Regions from separate parts of the Homo sapiens genome. Here region 1 is linked to region 2. The links are contacts of gene promoters, found by promoter capture Hi-C in human tissues and cell types (Jung and others, 2019). All regions are on one chromosome and are shown on one strand. Each heading gives the region's core, a stretch centred on a gene start or on the middle of the fragment in contact. The rest is flanking DNA. Distances are from core to core; before and after follow the strand shown.

Region 1 (4,847 bases), core at 2,061-4,560, 140 kb before region 2:
CAGTGAAATTGGGGCTAGAGAAGGAACTTTGTACAGTTTTCCCTGAGATTCAGATTGACTGAAAAGTCACATGAAGAGTTGATTGTCTTTTAATGGTATGTTTTAAACAGCTGACATTTTAAATTTTGATGAAATCCAGTTTATTCGTTTGTTCTTTTATGCTTTGGGTGTTGCATCCGAGAAATCTTTTCCCATCCCAAGATCACAATTTTTTTTCCTTTTTACTTCTAGAAGTGTTATAATTTTAAGCTTTATACTTTGGTCTATGACCCGTTTTTTTTTTTGTTTTGTTTTGTTTTTTCGTTTGTTTCTTTGTTTTGAGATGGAGTCTTGTTCTGTCACCCAGGCTGGGGTGCAGTGGCGTGATCTTGGCTCACTGCAATCTCTATCCCCTGGGTTCAAGTGATTCTCTTGTCTCAGCCTCCCAAGTAGCTGGGATTACAGGCACAGGCCGCCACGCCTGGCTAATTTTTGTATTTTTAGTAGAGACAGAGTTTTACCATGTTGGCCAGGCTGGTTTCAAACTCCTGACCTCAAGTGACCCACCTTGGCCTCCCAAAGTTTTGGGATTACAAGTGTGGGCCACCGCGGCCAGCCTATGATCCATTTTGAATGAATTTTTTATATGGTGCAAGGTGTCAATCCACCTTCACTTTTTCTTGGGAATATAGATATCCAGCTGTTTCACTACCATTTTTTGAAAGGACTGCCCTTTGCTCTATCACCTTTGCATTTTTGTTAAAAAGTAGTTGTCAATGTATATGTGGGTTTATTTCAGGACTCTGTTTTGTTCCATTGACCTGTTTTTCTCTCCTGAATGCCAATACCATATTTGTATGTAGTGTATGTAATTTTCTAATAATTCTTGAAACAGATAGTATTAATGTGTCATATTTTTGCTGTTGTTTGTATTTTTTGTAGAGATGGGGTTTCACCGTGTTGGCCAGGCTGTGTTGAACTCCTGAGCTAAAGCAATACACTTGCCTCGTCCTCCCCATGTGCTGGGATTACAGGCGTGAGCCTTGGTGCTGGCCCAGTGTACCACATTTCTTTTTGAGATTTGTTTTGGCTATGTTAAGTCCTTTGCTTTTGATGTGAAATTTGGGAACAGGCAGGGTGTGGTGGCTTATGCCTGTAATCCTAGAACTTTGGGAGGCCTAGATGGGTGGATCACTTGAGCTCAGGAGTTCCAGACCAGCCCGGGCCTATGGCAAAACTCCGTCTCTACAAAAAATAGAAAAAATTAGCCAGGTGTGGTGGTGCATGCCTGTAGTCACAGTTACACGGCAGGCTGAGGTGGGAGGATCACTTGAACCCCAGAGGTCAAGACTGCAGTGAGCTGAGATCACACCACTGTACTCCAGCCTGGGTGACAAAGTGAGACTCTATCTCAAAAAGAAATTAGGATCAATTTGTCAATTTCTACAACAACAACAACAAAAACCCCTGTTGGGCACCTTGATTGAGATTGCATTGAATTTATATAAAACTGTTGGGAGAATTGACATCTTAATAATATTGAGTCTTCTGGCCTATAAACAAGGTCTGTCTTCCTAGGTATTAATGTTTTGTCTTCTATTTCTCTTAATAATCTTTTGTAGTTTTCAGTGTACAGGTCTACCATGTCAGCATTTCATAGTTTTGATGCTAAATGGTATTTTAAAATTTCAAATTCTAACCACTTGTTGCTAGTAAATAGAAATACAATTGATGTTGAACTTGTATCCTTCAGCCTTGCTAAACTGTGAGTTCTCATGGTGTTTTTGTAAATTACATCAACAGTCATGTGTTCTATGAATAAAGAGTTTTACTCCTTCCTTTCTAATCTGAATGCCTTTTATTTCTTTTTCTTGCCTGATGGCATTGGTTAGAACTTCCAGTAGAGTACTAAATATATGTGGTCAAAGACACCCCTATCTTGTTCCTGATCTAAGAAGGAAAACAGTCTTTCACTATTATGATGTTTGTTAGCTCTTAAGTTGTTTGTAGATGCCCTTTATTGGGGTAGGAAGTTCCTTCCTATTCCTAGTGATATGGTTTGGCTGTGTCCCTACCCAAATCTCAACTTGAACTGTAATAATTCCCATGTGTCAAGGGCAGGGCCAGGTGAAATAATTGAATCAAGGGGGTAGTTTTCCCCATACTTTTCTGGTGTTAGTCAATAAGTCTCACGAGATCTGATGGTTTTATAAATGGGAGTTCCCCTGGACATGCTCTTTTGCCTGCCACCATGTAAGACGTGACTTTGGTCCCTATCCATTTGCCTTATGCTGTGATTGTGAGGCCTCCCCAGCCATGTGGAACTGTCAATTAAATCTCTTTCCTTTATAAATTACCCACTCTCCAGTATGTCTTTATTAGCAGCATAAGACGACTAATACACCTAGTTTACTGAGAATTTTTTTAAAAGTCAGAAATGGATGCTGGATTTTGTCATATCTTTTTTCTGCATCTGTTGAGATGGTTTTGTCTTTTAGTTTGTTAGTCTGGTGAATTACAGTGGCTGATTGATCGATTGAGTTTTCAATGTTAAACCTACCCTGGATTCCTGGCATAAACCACACCTGGTCATGATATATTCTCCTTTTTGTAAGATTTTATTTGAAATTTTTTTGTAGAATTTTTGCATCAGTGTGCATGAGAAATACTGGTCTGGTGTTCTTGGGAAAATAATCCCTCCTATTCAGTTTTTTGGAAGAGTTTTCTAAATAGAAAAAAAAAACTGTTCTGTCACTTAACAACAACAACACAGAAGACTGTGACCAAATGCATGGGGGTTTTTCCCACATACCAAGCTCTGCAGTGGAGAGCAGGTGTGTCCTCTACTTCTATTTCAGTTCCGACACTACCTGGAGATAGCGTCAGATCCCACAGGGTCAGGGCTCAGTCCAAGACTGCCCTCCCTTGAGACACCAGCCACAAGTGTGGGCCTCTGAGATTCTGACCAACTAGCTTCAAGTTGGAGTTCCCATGCCCCACTCTTTGGATTCAATTAATTTGCTTGAGCAGCTCACAGAACTCAGAAACACTTAAGCTTACTGGTTTATTGTAAAGGATATGGTAAAATACGCAGATGAAAGGACCCAAATGGAAGCGATGCATAGGGTAAGGTATGGGGAAAGGATATGGAGCTTCGATGCTCACCACCCTCCAGGAGCCTCCATATGTTCAGCAATCCGGAAGCTCTCCACACCCTGTCCTTTTGGGCCTTTTATAGAAATCTCATTAGATAGGCATTATCAACAACCAAGCAGAGAGACGATTGGACTAAGAGGGTATGATCTAATGCTCACAGTCTGAGTGGCGCCATTCAGCCAGGCCCGTCTGCTCTGGTTCTTAGCCTCTGCTGCATTTCTTCTTTCAGAGTATGAGGCAGTGCCCCTTCTGATCACAGAGAATTTCTTTATGGCCAGCTCCAAGACAGAAAGGCGGGAAAAGGAGCAGGTGAAAGGAGGGCAGAAGGGCAGAAAGAGAATGTCTTCTGAGGCCTAAAATGCCCAAGCATTACAAGACTGCAACGAAGGCCATGGGAGTTAGTTACAGACAAGGAGCCATGGATGAAATCAATATATCTATCATACGTTTTATATACTTGGTATTATTTATTTCTTAAATGTTTATAGAGTTCATATTTAAGCCATCTAGGCCCGAAGTTTCTTTGTGGGAAGCTTAACCACAGTTTTGGCTTAATAAATACATGGCTATTTTGGTTATCCATTTTTTTTCTCGAATGAGCTTTGGCAATTTATGTATTCTCCATTTTATCTAAGTTACCAAATTTATTTATATAAAGTTGTTCATGGGCTGGGCACGGTGGCTCACGCCTGCAATCCCAGCACTTTGGGAGGCCAAGTCAGAAGGATCGCTTGAGCTCAGGAGTTTGAGACCAGCCCGGGCAACATAGCGAGACGTCAGGAAAAAAAAAAAATTGCCAGGTGTGGTGCTGTGCACCTGTAGTCTCAGCTACTCGGGAGGCTGAAGCGGGAGTTGGAGGCTGCAGTGAGCTATAATCATGCCACTGCACTCCAGCCTGGGCAACAGTGAGACCCTGTCTCAAAAAATAAAAATGTTCTTCATAATATTGCCTTATGATGCTTGTATATCTGTAGACTATAGTGGTATTACCTGTAGTGATATCACTTCTCATTTTTGGTATTAGTTTTTCTTTTCTTTTATTCTGACTGGACTAGAAGTTTATCAGTTTTACTAATCTTCTGAAAGAACATGTCTTTGGTTTACTTTCTCTATTCTTTGTTTTCTATTTCAAGGGTCAACAAATGTTTTCTGTGTATTAGGCTTTGTGGGCCACATGACCTGTTAACAGCCGCTCCGTGCTGCTGCTGGAGCACGAAGCAGGCGTAGGGAATCTGTGGACGTAGGGAATCTGTAACTGAGTGTGGCCGTGCCAACCAAACTTAACACAGCAGCTCTAGCCTGCAGCATGGCACAGCCAATCTGTTCCGTTCCTTGGTTTCTGCTGTGATCATCATCATTTTCTTTTCTTTTGACTTTAGGTTTAATTTGCTCTTCTTTGTCTAATTATTTAAGGTAGAAGCTCAAGTCGTTGATTTGAGACCTTTCTTCTAACCTGGGTGTTTGGTGCTAAGACTTTTCCCCTAAGTAATGCTTTCACTCTACCCCACAAATTTTGATATATTGTGTTTTCATTTCCATTCAATCCAGGATATTTCCCAACTTCCCCTCTTATCTCTTCTTTGCCTCATGCGTTATTCAGCAGTATGTTGTTCAGTTTCCAAATATTGGGGGATATATATATATTTTTTTTCAGGGCACAGGTAATTATTTATTTATTTCACTTTACCTCATTTTTTATTTTTTTATTATAC
Region 2 (5,004 bases), core at 1,739-4,238:
AGTTATCCTCTAATTTTTATTGCACCTGAACTTTACATAAACACACATCCCACTTTTATTTGCCAATACAGATCAATTCAATCTGTCATCATTTAAACCACTAATGGATGATGTATAAGTCAAACAAAAGGGACAAGCATGAAAGTAGACTGCTTCTCTAACACCTGAACATTTTCCTTTTAATATACAAGCATTCTTGCACACAGTTCATAAAACTGCTAGGCTGCTGATTCAGTGTTCTGTTTAACAGATGAGTTTTAACTACTTAAAAAAAAAACAAACTCTGCTTTCTACAACTATCTGATCTTCGACAAACCTGACAAAAACAAGCAATGGGGAAAGGATTTCCTATTTAATAAATTGTGCTGGGAAAACTGGCTAGCCATATGCAGTAAACAGAAACTGGACTCCTTCCTTACACCTTATGCAAAAATTAACTCAAGATGGATTAAAGACTTAAATGTAAAACCCAAAACCATAAAAAACCTAAAAGAAAACCTAGGCAATACTATTCAGGACATAGGCATGGGCAAAGTCTTCATGACTAAACACCAAAAGCAATGGCAACAAAAGCCAAAACTGACAAATGGGATCTAACCTAAGAGCTTCTCCACAGCAAAAGAAACTCTTCAGAGTGAACAGGCAACCTACAGAACGGGGTAAAATTTTTGCAATCTACCCTTCTGACAAAGGTCTAATATCCAGAATATAGAAGGAACTTAAACAAATTTACAAGAAAAAAACAACCCCATCAAAAAGTGGCCAAAGGAAATGAACAGACACTTCTCAAAAGAAGACATTTATGCAGCCAACAACATATATTAAAAAAAAAGCTCATCATCACTGGTCATTAGAGAAATGCAAATCAAAACCACAATGAGATACCATCTCACATCAGTTAGAATGGTAATTATTAAAAAGCAAGGAAACAACAGATGCTGGAGAGGCTGTGGAGGAATAGGAACGCTTTTACACTGTTGGTGGGAGTGTAAATTAGTTCAACCATTGTGGAAGACAGTGTGGCGATTCCTCAAGGATCTAGAACCAGAAATAACATTTGACCCGGTGATCCCATTACTGGGTATATACCCAAAGGACTATAAATCATTCTACTATAAAGACACATAAACGTGTATGTTTATTGCAGCACTATTTACAATAGCAAAGACTTGGAACCAACCCAAATGCCCATCACGGATAGACTGAATAAAGAAAATGTGGTACAGATACACCATGGAATACTACGTAGCCATAAAAAAGAATGAGTTCATGTCCTTTGCAGGGACATGCATAAAGTGGGAAGCCATCATTCTCAGCAAACTAACACAAGAACAGAAAACCAAACACCGCATGTTCTCACTCATAAGTGGGAGTTGACAATGAGAACACATGGACACAGGGAGGGGAACATCACACACCTCACACATCGGGACCTGTCGGGGCGGGTGGGGGGCAAGAGGAGGGAGAGCATTAGGACAAATACCTAATGTATGTGGGGCTTAAAATCTAGATGACGGGTTGATAGGTGCAGCAAACCATCATGGCACATGTATACCCATGTAACAAACCAGAACGTTCTGCACATGTATCCCAGAACTTAAAGTAAAATAAAATTAAAAAACAAAAACAAAACAAAACAAAAACTTGGCCGGGTGCAGTGGCTCACGCCTGTAATCCCAGAACTTTGGGAGGCCGAGGCAGCTGGATCACCTGAAGGTCAGAAGTTCGAGACCAGCCTGGCCAACATGGTGAAACCCCCATCTCCACTAAAAACACAAAAAATTAGCTGGGCGTGTAATCCCAGCTACTCGGGAGGCTGAGGCAGGAGAATCGCTTGAATCCGGGAGGCAGAGGTTGCAGTGAGCCGAGATGGCGCCATTGCACTCCAGCCTGGGCAACAAGAGTGAAACTTCGTTTCAAAAACAGCAACAACAACAAGAACAACAACAAGAAGAACAAAAACTCTGCTTTTAAAAGTATTTTAAGTCCAGTGTGAAAAACCTAGAAGTCACAGCAAAGGCCGCTAAGAAACTTACCATTACTCATGACCCCTCTTACTACTGACCTTGAAAATCACTTGCCCTTCTCCAAGGCCCCGCCAGCTTCATGGGTCTCTTCCTGAACCTCCTCCCTAGTTCCAGGGCTTGGCCTAAGTCTCACAGAGCAGAAAGAAACGTGGCCACCCTTCCTCACGTGAGTCCTGTGCAAACATACAGCCCCACACAGAGCTCCTAACAATGGGGCATCAGTACCCAGGCACGATCGATGATTATGAACCCAACGCGATCAGAGACTCCCACATGGTGTGTGTGACTGCGCGCACAGGCGGGAGGAAAGGGGCGAATCTGCAAAACGAGTACAACAGATAAAATTCGCAACAGACTTCTACACCCTTTCAATCAACCGTCCCAAGCGCCACGAACGCGGGTCCCGCTCCGTGGGGGGCCGCAGCCACACTGGCAGGAGGGAATCCTGGGCCTCGACCAGACGCCGGCGGCGTCAGGAGAAACGGCCCGCGCTGGGCAGGCGGCGGGCACCGCGTAGCTCATTACCACGGGGGGCCCCGGCCAAGGCCGCCCGCCTCAGGCCGAGCCTTGGGGCTGTGCTGGACCCGGGCCCTCGTTCGCACGGCGCCCGCGCCGCCGCCGTCGGGAAACCGGGTTTTCAAGCGTTCGGCCCAGCGGGCGCTGTATTTTAGGGCGTGACCCCCGCCCCGCCCTCGAGGGCGACCGGAAGAGCAGGCACCACAGCAGATGCGCCGAGTCTGCGCCCCGCACCGCGAGGAGCACCCGAGGCCGCGCTCCCGGAGCCGGGTCTGGTGACTAAGGCGCGGGTCGCGACGCAGGGGCGGCCCCGGACTCTCGACCCCACCAGCCGCCTGAATGTCCCGCCGGACGCCCGGGCCGGCTCACCTGGGAGGCGCCTCCGCCGTCCGCCCGCGCGGGGCCAGGAGCGCGGCACCACCCCCGTACCGCCGGCCGCTCTTTGTGTCTGGAGGCCGCGACGCAACACTCCTCCCGGCCTCGAGGCACCGCCCCCTCGGTGTCCCGGCGCAGTGGGCGAACAGGGGGCGGGGCGAGCGAACGGGAGAGGGGGCGGGTCGGGTCCGGGATTGCGGGGCGGGGTGGGGGCAAGGCGGCCTCCGCAAATCTCAGGGCGGCTCTGGCCAGTTTGGAGCCTGGGGTGACCCTTGGAGCTGACCTCGCTGGTCCCTGTCGGAGCCCTGCGCGCTGCGGAGCTTGGCGGTTCGCAGCTCTCGGGGTAGCATCTTCTGGAAACAAGCCCGGAGGCCGGCCAGGCAGGGGTAATACCCCAAACCCACCACTGAGGAAACCGCGACTTAAAACCTAGGTCGTCACGTTTCCACCGCATATTAAATCAATACGGGTTGAGCATCCCTAATCCAAACATCTGAAATCCGAAATGCTTCAAAATCTGAAAGTTTTTGAGCGCTGACCTGATGCTCAAAGGAAATGCACATTGGAGCACTTCTTTTTTCTTCTTTTAACTTTCTTTTCTTTTGAGAAAGGCTGTCACTTCTGCTGCCCAGCCTGGGATGCAGTGGCGCGGTCATGGCTCACTACAGCCTCGACTTTCCCGGCTATGGCGATCCTCCCGCCTCAGCGTCCCAACCCCCAGTAGCTGGGACTGCAGGCATCTGCCACCATGTCCGCTAATTTTTGTATTTTTAGCACAGAGTCTCACTGTGTTGCCCAGGCTGGTCTCGAACTCCTAGGCTCAAGGGATGGATCCACCGCCTCGGCCTCCCAAAGTGCTGGGATTACAGGCGTGAGCCACCGCGCCCGGCCTGTATTTTTTTAAGAGAGGAGGCTTCACCATGTTGCCCAGGCTGGTCTGGAATTTCTGGCCTCAAGTGATCCTCCCACCTTGGCCTCCCATAGTGCTGGGATTACTGGCATGAGCCACCGCACCTGGCCTCATTGGAGCATTTCTAATTTTGGATTTTCAGATTAGGGGTGTTCAATTGGTATAATGCAAATATTCCAAAATCTGAAATCCTAAATGCTTCTGGTGCCAAGCATCTCGGTTAAGGGATATTCAACCTGTATATATTTATCGAACACCTACTAGGGCCAGGCATTGTCCTAGGGGCTGCCAACAGCGGTGCAAAAAATCCCTGGCCCTTATAGAGTTTACACAGAAAACAATTTAAAAACGTAAATACCCGGCCGGGCATAGTGGCTCATGCCTGTCATCCCAGCACTTTGGGGGGCTGAGGCAGGCGGATCACCTGAGGTCGGGAGTTCAAGACCAGCCTGACCAACATGGAGAAACCCCGTCTCTACTAAAAATACAAAATTAGCCGGGCGTGATGGCATATGCCTGTAATCCCAGCTACTCAGGAGGCTGAGACAGGAGAATCGCTTGAATCTGGGAGGCGGAGGTTGTGGTTATCAAGCCACTGCACTCCAGCTTGGGCGACAGAGTGAGACTCCATTTCAAAAAAAGAAAAAAAAAAGTAAATACAGCCAGGCACGGTGACTCATGCCTGTAATCCCAGTAGTTTGGGAGGCCACTGTGGGCAGATTGCCTGAGGACAGGAGTTCGAGACCAGCGTGGCCAACATGGTGAAACCCAGTGTCTACTGAAACACAAAAAAATTAGCCAGTTGTGGTTAACGCGCGCCTGTAGTCCCAGCTACTCGTGAGGCTGAGGCACAAGAATTGCATGAACCCAGGAGTCGGAGGTTGCAGTGAGCTGAGATCTTGCCACTAGACTCCAGCTTGGGCGACAGAGCAAGACTCTGTCTCCAAAAAATAAAAATAAAAACATAAATATACAAAAATGTCAGAGAGTTATATCAGAATTACAAAATGAGCTACAGTACACTGTAGCATGAGAAAGGTGCATATACTTTGTAGGAACTCCACTTTAGAGGATGTGAGGATCAGAGGCAAAATGGGGTGAGAAGGAAGCAGGATGAAAGACAGGCTATGGGGGAACGGAGTTTCCAAGGGCGAGTGAAATTTCCAAGTGCCTGCA

What was found. The method cuts DNA at HindIII sites, captures the fragments that hold promoters and counts their contacts. A contact is called where the count stands out against the background at its distance.
Region 1: a fragment that was not itself captured here is called in contact with the fragment with the promoter of NINL in region 2 in 2 of the 25 tissues and cell types used here (H1 embryonic stem cells and ovary).

Annotation. Positions count from the first base shown.
Region 1 is chr20:25,446,739-25,451,585 of GRCh38, forward strand. It overlaps GINS1 (GINS complex subunit 1), which reads left to right. Exons shown (of 7, transcript NM_021067.5): 7 at 1-1,825. Among named protein-coding and RNA genes, the nearest start is that of GINS1, 41 kb to the left of the region's middle. The HindIII fragment of the contact is 3,339 bases long and covers 1,642-4,847 here.
Region 2 is chr20:25,582,543-25,587,546 of GRCh38, forward strand. It overlaps NINL (ninein like), which reads right to left and starts at 2,989. Exons shown (of 24, transcript NM_025176.6): 1 at 2,913-2,989. RefSeq lists a silencer at 2,924-3,053. The HindIII fragment of the contact is 43,094 bases long and covers 1-5,004 here.